7 separate regions of the Homo sapiens genome follow, and all the other regions are linked to region 7. Evidence: promoter capture Hi-C in 16 types of primary human blood cells and fetal thymus (Javierre and others, 2016). All regions are on one chromosome and are shown on one strand. The core of a region is centred on a gene start or on the middle of the fragment in contact, and the rest is flanking DNA. Distances in the headings are between cores, read along the strand shown. Region 1 has its middle 30 kb from the start of CAMK4. Region 2 has its middle 5.5 kb from the start of CAMK4. Region 3 overlaps WDR36 (WD repeat domain 36). Region 4 overlaps STARD4 (StAR related lipid transfer domain containing 4). Region 5 has its middle 41 kb from the start of WDR36. Region 6 overlaps CAMK4 (calcium/calmodulin dependent protein kinase IV). Region 7 holds the start of SRP19 (signal recognition particle 19).

Region 1 (3,282 bases), core at 500-2,999, 1.7 Mb before region 7:
TTGTCTGCACCTCTGGGGTCATGATTTCCATCATCTTCTTCCGGATTTGGCGGACCTGTTGGTGCTGAGCATAAGAGGTCTTCCGTATCTGATTGTTGCGTTTTTTAGTAAAACCAACACAGAACAGATGAAGCAAGTAACCATCGGTAGTCCTGACATCAACATGAGCTTCAATCATTGTCTGCCATTTTTTGACCATGGAACACATTTTATCACGGGTAAGATCCATGCCATGGAAGTTGCTCAGGCAGTTTTTGCCCTGAACATCTTCAGTAATCAGCTTGAATTTTCTAAATGCAACTTCATCATTCTGCAAATCAGCAAGACTCACTTCAAACACACGACCCTTGAGACCATCAGATGCAATTTTGGTTCCTTGGGTCCTGGTGACGAGCGTCTTTCCAATATTTCTTATACTGAACATAGCAGATGCTTTCACATCATACCAATCTTTCTTAGAAAATTGATCAACCACTTTCTTCTTGGCTCCCTTTTTGCCGCCTTTCGTAAGGCACTTGTTCTTGCCAACTGCCATGGTGCTGGTCAGAGAGCCAAAAAGGTGATATATTTTTATTTATTGATGAGGAGATATTCAAAAGGTATGAGGTTAAAAAAGTGAGGTTTCAAATGTGCAAGAAAATCTCACTTTTATTAAAAAATTTTATGTATATGTAAAAGACTGTTAAACAAACTAAGCATAATTATATTTAGATAGTTGAATTATAGGTGATTTTAGTTTTCCTATATTTTTATGAAATGTTATTTTATCATGAATAAAATACAATGAGATGACACACAAAAAATTTGTCAAGTCTACTTCATGAGAAGGATGTTACTTATAAAAAGATATATATTTGTCAAACCAAAACAAAATGGCCTCCTTATTGAAGAGATAAAAAAAATCCATATAAAATAAAACTTACTGTCATTTATTAATTATAGGAAAATTTAGCCTTCCTAATAACAACAAATAATAGGTATTAATGAAAATGAATAATGTTCAACTATAAATTCATTAGATCTAAATACAGTATTTATTCTTTCATTTGACAGAGAGGAAGAGCATTCTAAAGTGCTTTTCTCATTTATTTTATAGTTTTTGTTCATTTGAATAGGCTTTTGATATATTTGACTTACATAAATTATGGGAATGATGTCACAGTTCTTATGAGATGGTGTCAATTATCATTCCAATAATCTTACCCACCTCCTACCAATACAAAAAAGTACCAGAATTAAGAGACATAATAAAAATGTTTGATGGCATCCTCTTTCCCTTTTTTTTTCCTGGGATTTAATTTCATTGCATGAACTTTTATTTATACTATGATCTGGAGCAGAGTATGTAGAAGAGGGCAGGCTAGAATATAGACCAACATAGTGATCCTCTATGAAAGATTTTTGTTGAATTTACTTAAAAGCAAATTGTAAAACATTTTAAAAACTGGGGAACAGATATTTTAAAATAAGTAACTTACATTTTTACTTCTATAGAGCTGAGCAAAGGAATCAGGATGTAAAAGAAAAAAATTAAAATTAATATTATTATTTAAGACTATAAGCAATAGTTTAAATGTTAAAATAGATATCTGGAAAATATATACTTTAAATCTCACTTTAAACTTTTACTACTCTTGCCTTCCTCCTGCACCTCCAAGACAATCCAGCCAGAATCTGCTAGTTGGCTTTTTGCTGAAGCCATCAACCCACCAAGTAGGTGAGATCATTCCTCTGACCCCACTTCTTTCATGCTCCTTCCCCCTCCCAGAGGCAATACTAGATAGAACAGAGACCTGCTAAAACCACTCTCTTTCCTCCCTTTATCTTTTCCTTCTTTTTCTCTCCTCAGGAAGTAAAAAGGCATGGGATTTTCGAAACTTGCATCTCATCCATTAACAATACTAAAGGAGAAAGGAGTAAGAAGATTTTTCCTTAAGGCAGCAGCCTGGCTTACAAGATTAGTTTCCTAACATCATTTCCTATTTTTGAAAGGCAGATGCCAAATATTACCTTATTTTTTCTGGGAAAACGAAAAAAGACTATGCAATTTTATTGGAAGTTCAGATTTATTAATACTTACATCTTTTAGCTTATGTTTTCTATTTACCATGGCTTTTCTTTTTATTAATTGCCTCATATTAGCATAATTTAGTTTTCATTATTTTACTTTTTCCTCCTCTAGAGATGTGAATGTTGTGTATTCTATTTTTATTCTTTTAATATTTTAATATTTCAGATATATATTTGTAATATATTTGTTTTTTTAAGTTTCAAATTAATCAATAATTCTACCTACCTCCTATCAATACAAAACAAAATATTTTAAGTCTAATCGTTTCTTTACAATCTTCTGAGGATGTGCTTTCACATCCTCATTGAAATTTGCTATTTTCTCTCTTTTTCATTTTAGCCAATTTGGTGGATGTATAGTGGTGTTGCATTATGGTTTAAATTTAAATTTGCATTACCCTGATTGTTACTGAAGTGGAGCCCATTTTATATGTTTATTGATTATTTGAATATCCTCTTTCAGAAAGTATCTGTTTGTCTTTTATCTATATTTCTCTTCGGCTGGCTGCATTTTTCTTACTGGTTGGTAGGAGTTGTATATATTACCAGATATGAGTCATCCCCAATCTATGACCTGTTTTTTTGTAGTATGCACAAACGTGATATATTTTTAATATAATCCAATGTATCTATTTCTTCCTTTGACTTTTTGTCCCAGTTTAATAAATATTTGCTTACTTCACAGACTTGAAGATATTCTTCCATGTTTTTGTCTACAGGCTTTCTTTTGTTACCTTTTACTTTTAAATTTGCAATTCATCTGAAAGTGATTCCTGTGTATGGTGTGAGGTACAGGTCAAGATATATCACTTTTAATATGAATATCCAATTGACTAAATTATTTTTATGGAAAACACTTCAGTGTCATCTTTGCCAGAGAGTAAGTATGATTTTTTGCAATGTCCATTATATTCCACTGGTCAATTTGCTAATCTGTGTGCCAATACTACTTTTGTCTTAAGTAATATACCTTTTAATAGATATTAATATCTGGTTTTGTAATATCTCTAGTTTCATTCTTTAAAATTGCTGTGACTGTATTTAGCTCTTTGTACCTCTATGTGAATTTTGAAACCAGCTTGTCAGGTTTTTTTTTTTTTGAAAATAAATAAATAAAATACTTCCTAATATTTTGACTGGGACAGAACTAAATGTATATACTAATTTAAGAAGAATTGACATCAACATCTTTTCACCATGGAGTTTTCCAAT
Region 2 (3,778 bases), core at 146-2,645, 1.6 Mb before region 7:
TTGTAGTTTTGATTTGCAAAAATTTCACTTAGCAATATCTGGTAATTTTAACTGTAGATGATTTGGACATCTTCTGTTGAATTGATTCCTAAGTATTTTATGCTTTTTATTCTATTGTAAATGAAATGGTATTAGTGAATTTTCCTATCATTTCCTATTAGTATTTGTTTTATATTGTGATTGTTTTATATTGACCTTGTATATTGTGACCTTGACAAATTCACTGATCAATTGTAGTAGTCTAAACCAACTTTTAGAATTTTCTATATAATAGTCAAGTCATCGGTACATGACAACAATTTAACTTCTTTCTTTCCAATATTAATAACTTCTAATTTTACCTAAGTTAGAGCACTGGCTGTGCCTTTAATTTTAATTGTTTTTATTAAGATGTAACTTAGGTACAATAAAATTTATCAATTTAAAAAGTATAATTCAGAGTTTTGACAAATGAATAAAATCCTGTAATCACCACCATAACCATGATATAAAACCTTTCCATCACTCCCCAAATCCCTTAGAGTCTTTTGCATTTGATTCCCTCCCACTTTAGCCCTGGAGAACTACTGATCTGCATTCTGTCACTTCAGTTTTGCCTTTCCTTGAATATCATATAGAGGGAATTATTTGTAGTATTTTGTGTTATATATATAACCCTCCTTGGGTTATTTATTTTGTTCAGTGAAAAATCCACCAATAGTTGTATGGCTAGGGGCAAAATAGACATAAACCTATTTCTCAACATTCTGGGAGCGTGTGCCCTCAGGGGTCTCGCTACTTATCGTGCAGAGTTTCACTTAATCTCTCTTTTCAATATGGCCTCAGCTGTATCTTCTGACCTAAAACATATTTCGTTCCTTGTTCAACATTTACAAAATTAAATATATTATCTTCTTCTAGGCTTTGGTAGGAGTGTTTTTTGGCTGTGAATTGTTAGAAGAGGTAATCCAGGAAGCCTAAAAGCTTTAATTTAAAAAAAGAATTTGTTATGAATACATAATATTTGCACTTATTTATGGGATACATGTGATATTTTTATACAAACATACAGTGTGCAGTGATCAAATCAGGGTAACTGGAATATCCATCCCTTCAAGCATTTATCACTTCCTTGTTGTTAGAAACATTCCAATTCCACTCTTAGTTATATTGAAATATGTAATAAGTTACTGTTAACTATAGTTGCCCTATTATGCTACTGAACATTAGATCTTATTCCCTGTATCTAACTGTATTTTTGTGCTCATTAACTATCCCCTATTTATCCCCTCCTTGCTATTACCCTTCCCGTCCTCTGATAGCCATCATTCTACTCTCTATCTCTAAGAGTTCAATATTTTTCTTAGCTTCCACATATGAGTGAGAACATGCAATATTTGTCTTTCTGTGCCTGGCTTATTTCACTTAATGTCCTCCAGTTTCATCTGTGTTGTTGCAAATGACAAGATTTCATTCTTTTTATGGCTGAATAATATTTCCTTGTGTATACATACTACATTTTCTTTATCCATTCATCCACTGATGGATACTCAGGTTGATTCTTTATCATGGCTGCTATAAATATGAGAGTGCAGATGTATCTTTGATATACTGATTTCCTTTCTTTTGGATATATACTTAGCAGTGGGATTGTGGACCACATGTTAGTTCTATTTTTAATTTATTTATTGTTTTGAGGAACCTCCATTCTGTTCTTCACAGTGACTGTACTAATTTATATTCCCACCAACAGTGTACGAGGGTTCCCTTTTCTCCACATTCTCACCAACATTCATTATTGCCTGTCTTTCTGATAAAAGTCATTTATTAGAAAGATTGTATCTCATTAGAAGCTTTGGGTCACTGAGCCTGTTTAATGGTAGGTTTCACTCTAAGGTGATTTTCTGATAAAAGTCATTTATCAGAAAGACAGGGGTGAGATATTTCCTTGTTTTGATTTGCATTTCTTTGATGAATAGAAATTTCTTTATATAGTTGTTGGCTATTTGTATGTTTCTTTTGAGAAATGTCTGTTGAGATCTTTTGCCCATTTTTCAATCTGATTTTTTTTCCTGTAGAGTTGTTTGAGTTTCTTATATATTCTGGTTATTAAACCCTTGTCAGATGGATAGTTCGCAAATATTTTCTCCCATTCTGTGGGTTGTCTCTTCAGTTTTTTTGATTGTTTCCTTTGCTGTGTGCAGAAACTTTAGCTCGATGTGATTCAATTTGTCCATTTTGCTTTGGTTGCCTGTTCTTTTGAGACCTTACTCAAGAAATCTTTCCCAGACCTATGAAATGGAGTGTTTCCCCAATATTCTCTTCTAGTAGTTTCATAGTTTCAGGTATTAGATTGAAGTATTTAATCCACTTTGACTTGATTTTTGTATCGTGAGAGAGAGGGTCTAGATTCAGTCTTCTGCAAATGGACATCCAGTTTTCCAAGCACTATTTATTGAAGAGACTGTCCTTTCCCTAATGTATGTTCTGGGTGCCTTTCTCAAAAATGATTTGACTGTAAATGCATGAATTTATTTCTCGGTGCTTTCTTCTGTCCTACTGGCCTATATATTCGTTTTGATGCCAGTATCATGCTCTTTTGGTTACTTTACCTTTGTATTATAATTTGAAACCAGGTAATATGACACCTCCAGCTTCCCCCTGCCCTGGCCTCCCCTCAGGATTGCTTTGTCTATTTGGCTTCTTTTGTGGTTTTACATAAATTTTAGCATTATTTTTCCTATTTCTGTGAAGAATGTCATTGGCATTTTGATAGACATTGCATTGAATGTGTAGATTGCTTCGGGTGGTGTGGGCATTTTAAAAATATTGTTTCTTCCAATCCATAAACATAAAATATCTTTGCATTTTTTTGTGTCCTCTTCCATTTCTTTCATGAATGTTTTACGGTTTTCATTGTAGACATCTTTCACTTCTTTGGTTAAGTTTATCCGTAGATATTTTGTTTTATTTGTAGCTATTGTAAATGGGATTACTTTTTCATTTTCTATTTCAGAAATGCTACTGTTTTCATATGTTGATTTTGTATCCTGCAACTTTACTGGACTGATCAATTCTAATAGTTTTTTTTTTTTTTTTTTTTTTGGTGGAGTCTTTAGGCTTTTTTAAATATAAGATCACATCATCTGCAAGCAAGGACAATTTGACTTCTTCCTTTCTAATTTGGATGAAGGGGCCTAATAACTTTTTATAAAATTTTTTAACCAATGTTTTGTTCTCTGTTCTATGCCTCACCTTGAGAACTATCTGGTACTCTAACTTCTGAACATGTCTTGATTTTATAGTAGGGATTAGATTTCTTCTTATTGGCTTTTCCCATTGCAAATCTAGGTTTCTGATTTATTAACTCCTCTGTTACTGTTTGTTTACGTGTTCAAGATTCAGTTGACATCACTTCTCTCTTTCTTTTTGTGGGATGATAACCCTGTTCCTTTTCTGGTCATTTCAGTTGAGTTTTGATAAGAAGTAATGGTACATTTTGTATATTTAATTCCTGTTTCATCTATTTTAATATTTATTAATTTTTATCTATGTCTCAAATGAAAGTAAGCTGCATGGATTATACAAAATATCCTGTTTTTAAACTTCAATTAATAGCATTTTTACAAAAGTCAATTATGAAAAGCATAGATGTCAAATGACTAAAATTATGCTGAATATAAAATGAATTCTATAATCACCTCTGTACCATGAAATGGCTTTCTTGCACCATTGTTACCTAAAGTAGCAGGAGAAAAAAGGCTTACCATCTCCTTTAATGTAACATGCTTGCTTTGGG
Region 3 (3,306 bases), core at 499-2,998, 1.8 Mb before region 7:
TGCTTTATCTTAGGGTAGTATGTGTTTAATTAAAATTTAAAATCTATGTAAACATCTATGCCAGAGATTTTGCCTGTAAATAGTAAGAAATTAAAAAAATCAAAAATCTTTAACGTGTAAGAAAAAAAGTTCTAAGTAAGAAAGAGATAAACAACTTTAGCAAGTTAACTACTTATAAACTGTTTAATGTGCTTACCTCAACTAATGTATTTTCCATTGCAGTTCTCCAACTTTAATGATTTGTTGTATTGTTTTCCCTGTGGAGTGAATATTGATGTATTTTCATACCTGAGTAATTCTTGGTTTGTATTTTCACCTTTTAGTAAAGGAGACTGTAATAGTAAACTTGATCTTGTAATCTGAAGGAAAATATACATCCATTTCCTAGGGATATGAGTCAGTTTCTTTCAACTGTGATAGCTTAGACAGTGGCTATGTTTATGGGATTATGTATCTTTAAACATGAAGAATTTATCCCTAGGATATCTACACCTTTCCTCAATAAAATACTGGGTTCATCATGAATTGAATCTTTTAAGTTCTTTAATCTGGTTACATTTTTAGCTTATATTGCCTCTTGGTTTTTTTTTGTTTTTTTTTTTGTTTTTTTTTTTTTTTTTTTTTCAGTAAATATCCTGAAGATTGCATTTCTGGGAATTATTCCAGGTTCTTGTTTCAGATTAGTAACCCTTTTCTTGTTTTGTTTTTGCTCAAGTAGAGGGAGGGAACAGAATTCCAAAAGTATTCCCTGTGCAGATAGAAGTTAAAAGGGCTTTTATTAGGTTACAGGATCTGGTTCTTACATTCCAGCAGACTCTCTTGAACCAGTATATTCAGGGAGCCATTTGTAGTGACTGACGAATAAAGGCAAGGATCTCTTAAAATAGCATTCAAAGTAAAGTTTATATAATTTTCACCTATACCTGTACATCCTAAACTGTGGTACCCATACCCTGGGATTGTACAGTAGTGTGCCAGATAGTATGTGAACCTAAAGATTAAGTGAAATGTACCTTCTTTGATACACAAATTTACTGGAAAATAGAGTGGAACATTGTTTTAATCATGGAGGAACTGTAAAGTGAAAAGCAGAATTCAAACATAGAAATTTTGAATGTAACCAAAGATTTCAGAGAATTTTTTTATCTTGGAGCAAGTGACCACTGGTGATGCCACCCCCCACTCCACAGGGTTATACGTTTTTTTTTTCTCCTTTATTAGAGATTATTTTGTGGAAATGTGTGAGAAGTACTCTTATTTCACTGAGGTGTGTCTTTTATTTTTGGCATTTTTTGAGTGGCCCATCAAACTTTCCAGATAATTGGCTCTTCGTTCCCTGAAAGAGCTAAGTATAAGCACTTCACTTGGAATATTCACTCCTGTCTGTTGATCAAATTACAGAAACATGAATGCTAATCCTTAGGATCTTTTTTTTTTAACTTTATTATCCTTTTCTGTAAAGTAATTCAAAAGTGAATGAAACTTTTAATAGTATTTTTATTAGAAGTTACAGAAAATTTTTGACAGTCTAAATTAAATTACATTTACAAGTTGCCTCTCATTTATTTTATTTCTCAAGGAATGTTTATAGATTAGTATCTAAGTCTGTGGTTTATTTTAACATATAAATCTTTGATGTGATAGACTTACTTTAAGTGATAAATATATGGTTACATAAAACATTTTAAACTATTTTATAAAAAATATTTATAACTTTCACTTTTGTAGAAGAATACCTGCAGTTGACTTTTGATAAATCAGTATTTAAAATTTCTGCAATTTTGCATCCAAGTACCTACTTGAATAAAATACTTCTGGGCAGTGAACAAGGAAGCCTGCAGTTGTGGAATGTAAAATCCAAGTAAGTATTTTAGTTAGAAAATAATATAGCTGTCACCTTATCCTCATCTACTACTTCCTAATGTATACTTAAGTCTCATTTCTCCCTGCCCTTGTATATTTATTTGGAGGGTTGTCTATAAATAACAGTTGGTCCCCTGTATCAGAGGAGTCAATTAACCTGGGATCAAAAATATTCAAGGAAAAATAAATAAATAATAATACAACAATAAAACATCACATTTTAAAGTAGTACAGTATAACAGCTATTTACATAGTATTTACATTATATTAGGTCTTATAAGTAAGCTAGAGATTATTTAAAGTATATGCATAAATGTGTGAAAGTTATATGCAAATACCACACCATTTTATGTAAGGGACTTGAGCATCTGTGAATTTTGGTATCAGCAGAGAAGTTGGGGAAGTCCTGGAACCAATCCCCCACAGGTAGTGAGATATAACTATATGTTTGCTTTTGGAGTTGTTGCTGGTGGCATCACATATGTGAAAGGTGGCATGTGATCCTGACACATGTTAGACAGCTTCATAAATGCTCACTGAAAAGTATGTACTAATGACCTAATAACTGTAAAGAATTGCTATAGAGAAGGCTCTAATAAAGGTCTATGAGATCCATCAGAAAATAATAATAATGAGATTATTACTAGGGAGCTTCTGATTTTCCATACATGAAGATTTTCTATACATGAAGAAGGTAAAAGATGGAAAGGCAAATCAATAATTTAGTGCTAGCATTTAGAAATGATTTTTAGGGTTAAAAGTACTTCCATAATCTCCCATAGATATGGCAAATATCTAATATTGATGTAGCTAGAGGGCTGGATACATGATTTTGAATACTTCTATCCATTATGTAAACATTTATCAGTAGAAAAAGGTGGCAGCTCACACTTCTTTGTATAGCATTTTAAAAAGCAAACAAAAATATTTGACCATCCAAATTGTTTTTTTCCAAAGTCCTTTTAAATTCAAAAGGGAAAATAAGATTATTAAAGGTTTGATGTTTTAAATCAGTGTTTCATTACAATTTAACAAATACCATTGACTGCCTACTTTGTGCTAGGTTCAGCAATAGTGACTGAAATACTGTCTTTGCCCATTTACAGAATTTAATACATGATTTAATATTTTAATGATAATTATAATGATTTCAGATACCTCTGTTTGCTCCATGGATGTGTTATTTATCATTCATGACTTGCTTCTGAAATTGAGAGCAGCATTACTGTTGTCATATAACAGTCATATAACATGCAAATAATATTTTTATTAAAATATAAGTTATTCCCTTTCATGATGTTTCTATAAAGATACTGCAGTCCTAAATTTTTTTTACTGTAGCCTGTAATATAACATGATTTTTACACACGTATTTTTTTTTCCACTTAGGACATTTAATTTCTTAATGAGGTGGCATAGCATAGTAGTTAGTTTGAGACCTAG
Region 4 (3,725 bases), core at 443-2,942, 1.4 Mb before region 7:
GCATATCCATCCAAAGTATGGTCTTTGTCCATATTGTTCCATTTAATTTTAAAAGTCATCAACCAATTCATTAGATAGAAGATATACCCCAAATATAAGTAATTGAACTAATTTACCGTTTTCTTAGCAACTCGCCACTTATCTTCTTCAATGCTATGGTACTGGATGAGAGTGTTTTTAAGTTTAGTTGCAAAAGAAGCAACATCAGACAGGCCTTCCATTACTTCTCTCTGTTATGGAGACCAAGATTAGCATCAGCAAATACCACAGTTTGAGGCAATAGGCCAGTGGGTCTCGAATCTGGTTTCACAATATAATAACCTACCAGAGCTATAAAAGATAGCTACCCTCACCCCAAATCAACTAATCATAATCTCTGAGAGTAGGACCCGGGCATAGTTTTTTTCTAATTGCTCCCAAGATGAATAACCCATAGCCAGAGGTGAGAATTACATATTTTTTACAATTAAAATCACTCATACAGAAAGTAGAAGAGAAGACAGGAGGAAGGGGAAGCAATTGTATCTCATATATAGATATGCTGTTAACTCTCAAACATTTACCTCCAGTCCTCTTTGTTTCAATGAGCTCAAAAATCCCAGATCCAGAAGCCTACTTAAAGCTTCAAGCCTAAAGGGAATCTCTTGCCTCCCCTGGCTTCCCTCAATTTGTCACAGTATTCCTCATTTTAACAATTTACTATTAAAATGGCAATTGAGCCCAAGTTCTCAAGTCAAAAGGCTTGGAATTGCCCTTAATAAGAATAGGTTCCTTTTAACACCATCATACCTCATTGTCTACAGTATTCTACACTGGTTTTCTTTCTGTCCCTCAAACAGGCTAGCTTATCGCTGACTTGTGGTCTTTGATACGGCTAGATCCCAAATCTTAGCATCACTAATAACAATGTAATGCCAATTTCAGTTTAAACCTCCTATCCTTCATAAAGCCTTCTTAAGTTACTATTACATCGTTATTTTCTTCATAGTGCTTATCATTATCTGACAATATAATAACTTATTTATAGGTGTATGATTCTACTCTTTGACCACCTCATTCCTAACTAATAGCATAGAGGTCCTTTTCTTATTCACCACTATAACTCCACCACCTAGAACACTGCCTGGCACATAGTAGGCCCTTATTTTGTTGATATGTTATTGTCTCAAAACAAGAATTACTTGGTCTTTGTCTTCTTTTGGTGCCAGGGCACCAATTTCTTAGCATAATTCCTACTTTTCACTATTCTATCTCTATTCCTCCCATCTTCAGTAAAAGGCTAAAGAAGAAAAGAGTTTTAGGGGTAAAGTTGCCCATTACAGAACCATCAAATTGCTGGAAAGGAGGTCAAGAAAACATCTAAATGAAATCTCCTAATCTAAATGAAATCACCCTCTATGGGAATAAGGCTGCAGTTGTCAACTATGGATGCACACATCAGAATCACCTTTTTATGCTTTGTACTAGTTGTCGCTGCTTTTAGGTGTTAGATTTTAGGGCCCAGTGCCAAATAGTCTAATTCAGTGGCTTTGTTCTGGAATGGGCCTCAGAAATGTAGGTCCTTTAAAATAGTCTCACTAATTATTCTGTTGTCTAGCCAGAGATCAGAACTAACTGATCTAAAAATTAAAGTGACAGAAATAAATTAAGGTTGTAGCCAATATTTAAATACCACTAATTAGAGCATATAAGCCATTAAAATTTATAAATACTAAAATTATGTAGAAACATGGGAAAGTATACAAAGAAAATTCAATATAACTTTTAGGATCTATGTAAGTGATGCAAAATATATAATAAGTATAGATCCAATCCACGGATGAAAAGTTGATGAGCTCATTCAAAAAGTCTCTCAGTCAAGAATATACCTAATTTCCATTCAAGAGGCTGTCAACTTGATAGCCAGTTCAATAACTTTATTCAAGAGTATGCCACAAACAAGCAGAAGTTCTTGCAGAAGGCTTGTAAAAGAGATTTAATTTATCTATTACAGGGATCACTATGATTAAACATATTCTTTAAACCCAAAGGTCACCTGCTAGGTTCCTGTGGTTGGCAGATAAGAGTATTTATGCAAAACTTTTTGATAGAAATCAAAGGTGAAACAGAAAGTTATTATTATCATAAGCAAACATTATCACTGGGCAAATCCAGTGCACGGAAAGTTACCTAGAAAGCTAGCTACCTAGAAGAGATGAGAATCTGCAACTTTAAGGTACTTGACTTAGTAATTCATACTGATCAGTATAAAGTTCAAGCTCCTTACTATAGCTTACAGGCCCTTTTATAATGTGGCATATTTTCATTACCTAATTTCCACTTATCTTTCCTGGATTCCCCTGAACCTGGGTTAGTTCCCCCTCCAATATTTTCTGACAGCAACTCTGTACTGTAATTATTCACTTGTTATCTTCTCCCGTTTAACTGTAAAATCTTTGGGGGGTAGGAAATCTGGCTTGTTCAATATTAATTCTCCTTACGTCTAGCACTCAGTAGGAACACAGTGAATAAAAAATGGAAAAATGTATAGACAATAAGCTACCATTCTCACTTATGGAAGACCTCAAGATATCTAAAGTATGCCCATTTACGCCAATCCTAGAGCTTCTGAATAACTAAAACTTCCTTTACCATAATGAAACACCATTTCTCAAGAAGGACTACTATTAAATATTTATCAAGCATCTATTATATACCAGGTCCTAGAACTACAGAAACAGATGGAATTCAGATTTTACTCTCAAATTGACTTATTCCACCCTTAAGCTTTAACAGAAATAACAACAACAAAAACTAAAACATTAAAAAATTCTATTAATAGCCTTTTTAAGAGTGGTGCAGTGGGAGGTAGGAAAGGAAGAGAAAGAAGTACAAAATCAGAAAGCTCTCTCTGATTAAATATGTCCAGCAATGTATTTAACCAAACAGTTAAGTCTTGCATGGATTATTTTCATCAAGATTAAGTCCATAATGAAATAATCATTGCCATCAAAACTGCTACCTCTGTGTAAACAGGCATAATTGAGCATTTCTCAAAATATTAATATATTCTAGAACCAAGAGGGTTGGGGGAGATGGGTTATCAAGGTCTTGGCTCTCTCTCCTAATATAACAGGGTACTGACATTAATTGAGAGGAAAACACCTAATTTGCCCTCCTGCAATCTCCAACTGTGGAGAATGTCAGGTAAATGTTTTAAATGCCATTCTGAACCCATTCTGAACTTCCTTTTACTAATTCAGTCTTTTATTCCCTTATCTTGACCTTATATCAGGAAATTATCCAACTCTAACATTTACACGTCAGAGAGAACAGGCACCACTTAACCTTATCAGAATATAATAGGTTCATATAAAAGATTTTATACTCTTGTCAGTCCCATGGCCAAATGCTGAGTAATGTCCACCTCCATGTTTTTCCTTTAATCTTTTTGTTCATGTTTTCTATGCCCATGCTTTTGAAGCTATCACTAGTGGTGATAGTGGCTGCCATCATAGGGAGGGCAGCTGTCTCAAGTTACTTTTCTTGAGGCCATCTATCAGCACCATAGTCTTGACCAATCCAACTCCAATTATTCTCAAATATCTGTCACAGTGAGATGGCATAGGTTCTATTTTAAATATGGAACATAATAAAACATTTAACCTGTAATGTAAAGTGAATGCCATAAAAATCTGTTTGGACTTTTGTAGTACGACTAGGTCAGAATTCACTTGTTAAAGAAA
Region 5 (3,454 bases), core at 297-2,796, 1.7 Mb before region 7:
TCTTGACTGCAAATTACAGAAATGTTATGTTTAAACAGGAATGGAAATTTAAGAATTCAGGAATACTGGATTATCTAATAATATCTTTGTTTTCCGGAATTTTTTTGTGATCTGTGACACTGAGAAATTCAAGAAATACTCTTTGAATTCTGCTTTTCTTTGCAGAGTGCTGCATTCCTTTGATTGTGTATTTCTTCTGCAACTAGTGCCTGCCAAAGGCAGTCAACAATCCACTTGATGTGCAGCCTCTTCCTAAAGTCCAAGATTGCACACTGGAGACTAAAAACCCTCCCTTCTGGGTCCTAAGTCTTCCCCCTCACTTATGACACTTCCCTTTCTTCCTCTGAAGGAAGAGGAATCCTTCTGTTTTCTTTTTGTAATCTTTTCACCATCCTCCAGGGACAAAAAAGCTTCGCCCCACCCCCACACACCCCCACCTTCCTGTCTTCATGTTTCTTATAACTCTGTTATGCTAAAGGGAAGATTACATTTTCAGAGGATGGAAAGCTATCATCTCACTGAAAAATCCCATTTTTGAATGGTAGATTATGAGTATTCGCATAGTATTTCACCTTACAGCCCTGCAAAACAAAATGGTAGTCCCCTTCTAATATGACAGTTGCGTCAAATCTCAGAAAAGGTGATACGTTTGGAAAGGCAAAGGAAGAAGACCACATCACCCTTTAAAGAATTATTCTTACACATTTTTGGTCATTATTAGCCTTATTTAAGCTCTGCAGACTCTCTTGTTTTCTGCTGTTAATAGTTTGAGATCCTGAAAGTCTCAAGCCAAAATTGTTTCCAAGAGTAATCTCACTGATTCAGATATAAATTTAATACAATATAAGGCATATACCTTGCAGTCCTTCCCCCATTAAGGCTAAGCCATGGGACTTATTGCAAGGGAAAGGGAGCAGTGATATTAGAGAAGGTCACAGTATAGGTCAGTAGTTCTCAAAGTGTGTTTCCCCAATTAGCAATATCAACATCACCTGGGAACTTAGAACTGCAGGCCCCACTGCATAACTACTGAAATAAAAACTCTGTGGGTAGGGGCCAGCAATATGTATTTTAACAAATCTCCGTTTTGGTGACTTAATATAACTGAACTTAGAACTGGAGAAGGGAAAAAAGAAGGCTATGAGGCATAAGGTTCTCACCTATGTTCCCACTTGGTTCTAGGAAGAAACCTGAAGGAAGGAAAGTGAGCAAAAGGGTTAAAGATTTTGTAGGCCCTGGCCCCAGATCTAGAAGTAAAAGGGGAAGTGGGGATGGAGGGTTAGTTGGAGAAATCACTGGGTACATTAAGTGGAACTCCAGAGTTGTGGGGCTAGGTCCTGACTCCCCTGGAGGAGACTGGCTCACAAGCCCTCTATCCTGACACATGGTGGCCATAGTCAAGGGGTGTGACTTAACTTAGGTGGCAAGAAATGACTGTGACAGCTCACAGAGTTTCCATGACTGTGGGTGACACTGGGAGGGATCTGGAGGTTTCCACCTGCTCCCTGAGGGGAATGAGGGAGGCAGCTGGGAGTAGAATGCCAACAGGCCTGCCATAGAGCCCCAGTGGCAGAGTGTGGACACACCATCCTGGCCCAGGGCCCAGCTGGAAGATAGGCAGAGACTCAGGGCACAGGCTAAGTGGGACTGTGGTCCTGGTCGGGGGAGGTGAGAAGAGGGTCTGGCAACACAGAAGGCACTCACACATAGTGAACCTTCCTTTGTGAGGAAAGAAACAGACATGGTAGGGAATTTGAACATAAAATCTCACAAAATATTTATCCAAAAGAGACTAGGCTAATGTGAAAGAGACTGAGATACTTTTTAATTGGTAATTTTGTTCCCTACCCTAAATCTAGTAATATGAGGGCTCAAGATGAAATTTAATCATTTTGATATATAAAATATTCTTTAGGGATCTTTCTTTCAGTATCTGTGTACTATATGCTGAATTTCCCAATTCCAACCATGCTAATTTCCATTTCCAGCTGAATCTACTAAATGTCTCTGAAAAGGTACGTAAAATATTCAATACTTAGTTTTATCTCTGTGTTGTTAGTGATTTATTGACACTGCAGACATGTAGATAACAATAGTTTAATGTCCTCTGAAAACACAAAAATTCCATAAATCCTTGCAAACAATTTTTAGCAATATTGTTTATTGCTACCACAGCCAAGAATGGATATTTCAAAGCCGGGGGTTTTGTTCTGTTTTGTTTTGTTTTGTTTGGCTGCCCTTTTTTTCCCCCACTATCTCTGGCTAAATTCCAGTCTTTACTATTAATTTATTTTTTCTCATTTGAACTTTCCAAGTATGATGTCTGCCTCATAACTCTGGCCCTGTTTCCTCACTCCTGGCCACACTCTATTCTCTAGAGTAAATATGATGCAAGCCCATTGGGTGACTGAATGGTGGGTGAGAGTGAGTTATCGAAGCCTGGACTCACTTAACCATGTGGATTTAGTTTACAAGAAGCATCATATACCAAACAAAGGAGTCACATACCCGACAGCCTCCCCACCCAGCTCACAGCGCTGTGATCACTCCTCTTTCCTTCCTTCAATCATTGATTTATTCATTCTATCTTCAACAAATACTTAGCTCTGACCCTGTCTCAGATGCTGTTCTATGCTCTTGAGATACTTTAGAAAACAAAACATATAAAAATCCCGGTCCTATGAAGCTTGTATTTTAGCTCATTATTCTTTTATATTCTTTTGCTTAGCCTTTTGACTTGCTCTCTTTTAGAATCAAGATAAAGAAGAAGATGTTTCTAGGCCTTCACACTCTGCAAAGAGTGACTGCCAGGAGTTTCTCCCTTTATTTCAAAATGTGGCATACGTGGGTGTGTGTGTGTGTGTGCACGCACACGTGTGTGCACGTGTTTGTGTGTGTGTACAGGAATTCCCAAATAGCCTCCATATGAAAAAAAAAATGCCTGCATGCTGCTTCACTACCATTCTTGTTTTAACAAAGGGCTTGGTAACTTAGAAAAGCAGTGCATATGAAGAAGTAAAACAATTAAGGAGGAAAAAAAACTGGTTTTTTTTTTCCCTTGGAAGACTCCACCTCTCCATTCTCTGGCTGATAATAGATGGCCAGGCATAGGGAAGCAGAGACTAGGAATTAGCCTTGTAGTTTGTCAGACGTGGCTCCTGGAGCTGAGGGCCACCCCCCAGGGGCCTGGGTGCAGTTTTAGCTCTTGGCACACTGCGTGGAAAGGTGGAGGCAGGGGGCAGAGATGAGATGTTCATCTCTGTTGCTGTGGTGACAAGGAGGTGAAGTGAAGGTACTTCAAAAATGTAAGCTACAACACGTGAGGAAAAAGGTGCCTGTGGAACTGTGTGCTTCTCTCAACCTGTCCCATTCCCTCCTAAATAATCGTGTATGGGGTATGGCAAGATGGAGATCCCAACACACATGAGACAGGGTGCCTGACCCCCAGTCCAGG
Region 6 (3,754 bases), core at 627-3,126, 1.6 Mb before region 7:
GGAATTAGGCAAATAGCTGCAAGAAAATCAGCGGTACTTAAAACTGTCTTTCTTCAGGATGTTTTTTTCTATACGAACCCACTTCTAAACTAGCACACCGAAATTACTTGTTCAGTACGTGTCTCCCTCTCATTAGAATGTAAGCTCTTGAGGCTCTGGTTTCTGTCCCTTTGTTCCCTGCTGTGTCCCCAGAATCTTAGCACAATGCCTAGTTTATAGTGAACACTCATTACATATTTGCTGAGTAATATATCAGTTGCACCCATGGGGTTTCCACAATTGAAACTCCTTTTGAACCCAGGGAGCTCTGGTCTTTTGTCAGTCATCTCTATCTTAAAGAGCCCCCATCTCTAAGTGATCAGGGATACTGTCACCTTCTGTGAGGAGATTATCTACCTCTAAGATCCCTTCTAGTCCCAACCATGTGTGCACCTGCGTTTTCTTCCAGTTGAATTCTCTGGGCGATCACCTTAGTTCTTTATGTTGTTTAGGAGACAGAGCAGCTTTTGAAGTAAGTAGGGCTCTAAGCCTGAAAGGCTTTCTAAGTGTGTTGGAGGATCCTCACATAAATTTTATTCTCATTTTGTGCTTTCTAAATGCATCACCTTTAAAAAATGTACCTATTGTTACATTCACTCATTTGTACTTCCTGCTGTAGACTATACAAATGCTAGCACTAGTTGTAGATATCTAGGACAAGATTTAGAAGAAAGTATGTTTCCTGGCTTCCTCTACCCCTCTAGTTTTGCTTTTAGAAAAGAATCATTCTTTTTAAAAAGCTTGACTTATGACCTATTTGTGGCTATGTAACCAGTTAGCAATGTCCTGTCACATGGTTGGGTAACATATCCCCTGACTTGACCATAGGAGGGGAAGGAAGACCTAAGGAGAGGGTCTTGAAGGAGATAAGAGCATAAATAGTCTGTTCCATGTCTATCTATATTTGGGGATATTATTTAAAAGCCATCTACTGAAATGCTTAATCATCGATCAAAAAGAAATGCAGCTTGACATAACTTCCAAGTAGGGTTATTAACTTTACATTCCTGATGTTTATGCACTGTCAAAGTAATTATTCTGGAAATGTGTACCTTCCCATCTTTCTTTTGACAACCAGAGGCCAGGGGAGCGTGGTGAAAGGAAACTGTGGGTGGGAAGCAGAGAGGCAGACACAGGGCTGAGGGGCAGAAGGGAGGCCACTCCTTACCAGCTTTACTTCTTGTTTTCTGAGTCCAGTTACCCCTAGGCCCAGAGCACTTCTCCGTCCCCTCCTGATTTCTCCCTGTTTCCTTCATCTCTCCAGAGCCTAGGTACCAGTCATTTCCTTGTATCTGCCCATCTTATGGAATGAATGTTTATTCCTCCAAAGGCATGTATTGAGACCCTAACTCCCAATACGATGGGGTTTGGAGATGTGCCTTCGGCAGAAAATTAGGTTTAGGTGAGGTGATGAGGCATTAGTGCTCTTATTAAAAGAGTTGTGAGAGCTTGCTCGCTCGCTGTCTCTCATCACTGACCATGGAGGACACAGCAAGAAGTCTGCAAGCCTGGAAGAGAGTTCTCATCAGAACCCGACCACACTGGCACCCGATTGCAGACTTCCAGCCCTCAGAACTGTGAAAAAAATGTTTTTTTTTTTTAAGTTAAGCCACCCCAGTCTGTGGCACTTTGTTACCAGCCAGAGCAGAGAAAGACAGCCCTGTACCCTTTTCCCCCATTTGGCACCTGTCTGACGTCGCAGTTTGAGGAGTGATCTGCTCTTCTTTCTCAGATGCCTGACATTTCCTCCCAGATACTGGGTAAAGGAGGCCAGAACCCCACTTCACAAGGAGTAAAGCTCCTTACTTGTTTTATCTAGGATGGCTAAAGCTGACTCTCAGAGGCTCTTCTTTTTTTTTTTTTTTTTTTTTTTTTTTTAACAGGAGGTGGGCTCCCTAGCATGCCTCCACCTTGCCAGACCCTAGACTGGGACAATTCTTCTGTGGCTACATCCCCACTTCCACTCGTGCCTTCCAGGCACTAGCACCTTGGATCCCACTGTGCATCCGTACCTGTTGGCTTTCCAAGTGTCAATGCCTGCCAGCTCCTGGTACATTATTTCCTCAGCAGCTGGCACGGGATTTTTTGTTGCCAACTAGAAGCTCAGCTATTAAAAAATAAAACTTGGCGCATCTTGAGTATCATATGTTTTCATCAGGACTTGGATCTGTATTCTGGCACAGCTCACACGATCACTTTGGGGACCTCTCTCAGGACTAGGAACCCAGTATTCCTCTGGGTCTTTGACCGTGTTTTCACCTTATTCTGAATATATTCTCAAACCTTGAAAAACCTATGATGCTTACGATTAATTCGAGGTCTGTTTTACTTGTGTTTTGCTTGGTTTTATTGGATTTTTTTTAACCTTGTCAGTGTTTCTTTAGCACTAGGTTGCTTTCTCTGGCTGTTATTGTCAGTTTTCTATCTTAAATTATAAATTCCCGAGAATAAGATTCATGTTTCTCAGGTTAATGAATAGCTAACACACAACACTGAAATGGGGACCTTTACTGCATGTCTTTGCATGAACATGAGGTTATCCAAGAAGGGAGATTTTTATTTGCAGGGATTGTTAAATATTAAGATAAATGAAAAGGACAAGTTTTGGAGTTAGAAAGACCTGCAATAGAGTCCCAGTTCGGCCACTCATGAAGTGTGTCATTTTAGACAAATTTTCATTGAGCCTCAGCTTCTCCACCCATAAGAAGAGATAATAATGATTAAATGAGGTCAGTGCATTCATTATACACGGTAAGTGTCCAGTAAGCATTAGATATTATCGATATTAATTCTGGAATAGCTGTCTGTAAAGGTGGAGGGATTCTAGGTGATTGGATAGCACACTTTCTCAAAAATGTCATAAGATTCTAAAATTCTGGAAATGCGTTGGCAGGAGGCCTTAGTAATTCTCTGCTACTGCTTGCAGCTTCTGAGTAAGCTTTCTGAGCATCTAAGCTTCCCCTTTACCCAGGGGTAGTACATGGTGCAATATTTGTAAATATTTGACTACTGTTTTTTGATATTTCATGTATTGAAAAGAAGGTGTAGTATAACCGTAAGATTTTCCACATCTGCAGACAAAAGGAAAGTTGGGGTAGTTTAAAATAACTGCTGCATGTGGTTCTTTCTGTATAATTTTTAGTTTTTTTTCTTCTAAAAGGGTGTTAGAAAATATTAATCTTTTTGTTGCTTTGAGGTCTTATTTACACTAACTTTACCTCTTCTTCATAGATTAATTTTTCATTCTAAATGTTGCATTCTTCACCGGGAAGTTAAATAACCAAACCCAGAATCACTGCAACTTACCTGTGATTTAGAAATAGAGTTCTGGAAATCATTTAACAATCTAAAAAAAAAAAAACCCATAAGTAGTAAGGAATATTTGAAAGCAGTCTATTAGTTTGTGCACGCTGATAAAACAATACATCACATGGAAGAGACTTATATTTAAATGATGTTACTATTAGCCATACCTAAAAAATGTATTTCTCTAACGTGATACCTAAGTTGTAAAAGAAAGTTTGATTTCCAGTTTCATCTTACATTTCTTTTATAGCTGCTTTTAATTGTCCTACCCTCTCTTCTGGCGAAGGAACTTCATTGCAGTACTTAAGAAAACAAATTAATAACCTTGAAGAAAGCTGTTAATGAGATACTCATAACTAAGGAAAAAAGTGGGGGGATAGAAATTAGATGACCTAGGAGACACCTTACT
Region 7 (3,419 bases), core at 715-3,214:
TATGTTATGGAGATGGATTCTTTCTTAAACCTCCTGAACCACCCTCTACTAGCTTCCCACTTCTGAAGCTTCCTCACCTTTCTCAGCCTTCACAGAATTGAAGGGAGTTAGGGCCTTGCTCGGATTAGGCTTTGGGTTAAAGGAATGTTGTGACTGGTTTGAGCTTCTATCCAAACCCCTAAAACTTTCTCCATATCAGCAATAAGGTTGTTTTGCTTTCTGATCATTTGTGTGTTTATTGAAGTAATTTCCTTTTAATTCCTTCAAGAATTTTGTCTTTGTATTTACAACTTGGCTGTTAGGTGCCAAGAGGCCTAGCTTTCAGCCTATCTTGGCTTACATATGCCTTCCTCACTAAGCTTAATCATTTCCATCTTTTGACATGTGAGACGTGTGACTCTTCCTTTCACTTGAATACTTAGAGGCCATTGTAGGGTTACTAACTGGCCTAATTTCAACATTGTTGTGTTTCAGGGAATAGGGACTCCAGAAGAGGGAGAGAGATGGGAAATGGCCAGTTGGTCGAACAGTTAAAACATACACAACATTTATCCATTAAGTTCCCCATCTTATCTGGGCATGGTTCATGGTGCCCCAAAACATTATTATTATTTGAGACGGAGTCTTGCACTGTCGCCAGGCTGGAGTGCAGTGGTGTGATCTTGGCTCACTGCAACCTCCACCTCCTGGGTTCAAGAGATTCCCCTGCCTCCCGAGTAGCTGGGACTAAAGGCCTGTGCCACCATGCCTGGCTTATTTTTTATATTTTAGTAGAGATGGGGTTTCACCATGTTGGCCAAGATGGTGTCTATCTCCTGACCTCGTGATCCACCTGCCTCGGCCTCCCAAAGTGCTGGGATTACAGGCGTGAGCCACCGCACCCGGCCTTAAAACTATTACAATAGTAACAGCAAACATCACTGATCACCGATCACCATAACAGAAATAATGAAAAGGTTTGAAATATTGCAAAAATTACCAAATGTGACACAAAGTATACGCTGCTGGAAAAATGGCACCAAGCAACTTCTTTCAGGCGGATTTGCCAAAAACCTTCCATTTGTAAAAAGGCAGTATCTACTCGCAGCAGCAAGTGAAGTGCAATAATGAAGTATGCCTGTAGTGATGGCACATGGTATCCTTCAGAAGTTTTAAAAGGTGAATAGTTTTGTTTCGTTTTTCCTAGACGGAGTCTTGCTCTGTTACGCAGGCTGGAGTGCAGTGGTGTGATCTCAGCTCACTGCAACCTCCACCTCCTGGGTTCAAGTGATTCTCCTGTCTCAGCCTCCGAGTAGCTGGGATTACAGGCGTGTGCCACCACACTCGGCTAATTTTTGTATTTTTAGTACAGACGGGGTTTCAGCATGTTGGCCAGGCTGCTCTCCAACTCCTGACCTCATGATCCACCTGCCTCAGTCTCCCAAAGTGCTGGGATACAGGCGTGAGCCACCGCACCCGGCCTAAAAGGTGAATAGCTAAGTTTCTAACGCAGAGCACACTGAAACACAACGTCTATAACTTTGCTAGTTCTACCACTACAAAAATCCATTTTGCCAAACTGAAAGCAAGCTCTAGAGCCCAGGAACGGAGAAAAATTAAACGTAAGGAGTATTTCCTTCCCTGTCTAACATATATTTGCATCCTGAACCACACAGATTCCCCTCGTGGCACAGTCTTCGCCCCTTAACAGAGAGTAGCTAGTACCACCCATACTCGCTGAGAAACTGGAAACGAGGGAGGGTCGAAGTTAAACCCTTTTTAGTGGCGGTGCATGCGCCCCACATGGTCTTCCCGGCTTGGGAAAGGAATGAGAAGCTTTCATGATTCTCTCGCGAGAAGGGAAGTCTTCATGCCACGTCAGAGACTAGAGATCCTGGCGCCGAGCGACAGGTGCCGGAACAAACAGGCGATGAGAAATCGCGGACGCGGAACCATTTCTTGGGCAGGACTTCCGGCGGAAAAGCGGGCTGTCTCGGAAACTCAGAGCCGGGTTCCTCCCGGGTTTCTGCCGGGTTTCTCCCTGCGGCTCCTGGGTTGTTGAGACTCTTGTGAAGATGGCTTGCGCTGCCGCGCGGTCCCCGGCCGACCAGGACAGGTGGGTTCTGAGGCGGTGGGTCCTCCGAAAGGAAGGGGCTTGCTGTGGTGCTGCAGGTGCTACACCGCGCTTCTCCGCTCCGCGGCCTCCAGAATGGCCTAGCTGATCCAACTCGCTCTGTACGGGCCCCGCGCCTCTCCCTGGCAGCTCGTTTTTCTGAATCCTGCAGCAGCCACCAGGCTCTTCTCAGGGCTCCTGAAATTCCGACCATAGGTAGCCTAGTGTTTATCTGTACGCGAGACAAGGATTTTGGGTGCTACGTGGACATGATATCAAGTAATATAATCACAGTGTGAGAAATGTGTTCTTTTTAAGTATTGTTGCGTTCAGAAAGGCTCATTTGTGAAATTTTAAGGTTTTTAATACCTCGGACACTTTATATAAGAGGGCGGGCCCATTCTCAGGAACTTTTGACGGGCTGCTCTGTCTAATGTAACAGTTACCCAAGTCGTTTTGTTTCTATTCCTGTGGTTTTTTTCCATCCAAGGTAGTGGATAAAGTTTATTTTTAAATAAGTTAAAGTGAGGTAATTTAAAGAAATAACATTAAGCAAATAATAGCATAGGTGTACCAGCAATGATGACGACTACCACGGACCGAAAGAATGTATTTTTGAAAATACTTGTTATCTGTTGAGTGTAGTTGTCCAGGTTCTTGGCGTTTTGAATAAGGAATTGAACAAAACACACAAAGCAAGGCAGCGAAAGCAGATTTATTTTAAACAAAAGTACACTCCACAGGGTGGGAGCCGGCTCCAGCAAGCTACCCAAGAGCTGTTGGTTACAGAATTTTCTAGGGTTTAAATACCCTCTAGACGTTTCCCATTGACCTGTGCCAGTCTGATTGGTTGAGGGAGGGGGATCAATCAGAAAGAGGAGTAGGCCCGCGGCCAGTCTGATTAGTTGCTCGAGGGGACCACTCCGAGGTACTTTGATTTTTCAACTGCCACGCAGAAAAAGGAGGGGTTGAAAAGGGAGTACCCATCTGATATCTAGGCAGCATGAATTGGCCTTTGGTTCCCTGCCACCCGACCCTTTTCTCCTGCCTCTTACTGCTCTAGTGATACCACTTATGCTATTGTCTATGGCAGGTTTATTTGTATCTATCCTGCTTATTTAAATAATAAGAAGACCATCGCAGAGGGAAGGCGAATCCCCATAAGTAAGGTAAGCAAGATGGCTGGCACCTTGATCCTCGAGGGAATGGGGGGTGTCATCCTGGTCGGGCCACGTAATCTTGTTAGAGCCGCAGGGGGTTCTCTTCACTGCATTTATTTAGGGCTTGAGAACACAGCCAAGAATTGGGGTGCGTTCCTCAGTGTTGG

What was found. The method cuts DNA at HindIII sites, captures the fragments that hold promoters and counts their contacts. A CHiCAGO score of 5 or more calls a contact.
Region 1: a fragment that was not itself captured here is called in contact with the fragment with the promoter of SRP19 in region 7 in 1 of 17 cell types (naive CD8 T cells); the score reaches 5.1 in naive CD8 T cells.
Region 2: a contact is called between a fragment that was not itself captured here and the fragment with the promoter of SRP19 in region 7, in 1 of 17 cell types (fetal thymus). The highest score is 6.5, in fetal thymus.
Region 3: a fragment that was not itself captured here is called in contact with the fragment with the promoter of SRP19 in region 7 in 6 of 17 cell types (naive B cells, total B cells, monocytes and 3 more); the score reaches 9.4 in naive B cells.
Region 4: a contact is called between a fragment that was not itself captured here and the fragment with the promoter of SRP19 in region 7, in 7 of 17 cell types (total B cells, naive B cells, fetal thymus and 4 more). The highest score is 8.6, in total B cells.
Region 5: a contact is called between a fragment that was not itself captured here and the fragment with the promoter of SRP19 in region 7, in 2 of 17 cell types (M0 macrophages and monocytes). The highest score is 7.1, in M0 macrophages.
Region 6: a contact is called between a fragment that was not itself captured here and the fragment with the promoter of SRP19 in region 7, in 2 of 17 cell types (fetal thymus and activated CD4 T cells). The highest score is 6.8, in fetal thymus.

What each region holds. Positions count from the first base shown.
Region 1 is chr5:111,192,508-111,195,789 of GRCh38, forward strand. It overlaps the pseudogene RPS3AP21. Among named protein-coding and RNA genes, the nearest start is that of CAMK4, 30 kb to the right of the region's middle. The HindIII fragment of the contact is 4,835 bases long and covers 1-3,282 here.
Region 2 is chr5:111,217,037-111,220,814 of GRCh38, forward strand. No RefSeq gene overlaps it. Among named protein-coding and RNA genes, the nearest start is that of CAMK4, 5.5 kb to the right of the region's middle. The HindIII fragment of the contact is 869 bases long and covers 962-1,830 here.
Region 3 is chr5:111,098,861-111,102,166 of GRCh38, forward strand. It overlaps WDR36 (WD repeat domain 36), which reads left to right. Exons shown (of 23, transcript NM_139281.3): 5 at 1,729-1,861. Among named protein-coding and RNA genes, the nearest start is that of WDR36, 8.2 kb to the left of the region's middle. The HindIII fragment of the contact is 7,608 bases long and covers 1-3,306 here.
Region 4 is chr5:111,507,213-111,510,937 of GRCh38, forward strand. STARD4 (StAR related lipid transfer domain containing 4) reads right to left here. Exons shown (of 6, transcript NM_139164.3): 2 at 117-230. The coding sequence starts at 221. Among named protein-coding and RNA genes, the nearest start is that of STARD4-AS1, 3.2 kb to the right of the region's middle. RefSeq lists an enhancer at 1,972-2,091. The HindIII fragment of the contact is 2,144 bases long and covers 621-2,764 here.
Region 5 is chr5:111,131,947-111,135,400 of GRCh38, forward strand. No RefSeq gene overlaps it. Among named protein-coding and RNA genes, the nearest start is that of WDR36, 41 kb to the left of the region's middle. The HindIII fragment of the contact is 2,276 bases long and covers 409-2,684 here.
Region 6 is chr5:111,236,920-111,240,673 of GRCh38, forward strand. The region is part of intron 1 of CAMK4 (calcium/calmodulin dependent protein kinase IV); the gene reads left to right. Among named protein-coding and RNA genes, the nearest start is that of CAMK4, 14 kb to the left of the region's middle. RefSeq lists a silencer at 745-844. The HindIII fragment of the contact is 2,198 bases long and covers 778-2,975 here.
Region 7 is chr5:112,859,323-112,862,741 of GRCh38, forward strand. SRP19 (signal recognition particle 19) reads left to right here and starts at 1,965. Exons shown (of 5, transcript NM_003135.3): 1 at 1,965-2,095; 2 at 3,186-3,261. The coding sequence starts at 2,055. RefSeq lists enhancers at 1,730-2,024, 1,783-1,862, 1,963-2,262. The HindIII fragment of the contact is 2,166 bases long and covers 1,814-3,419 here.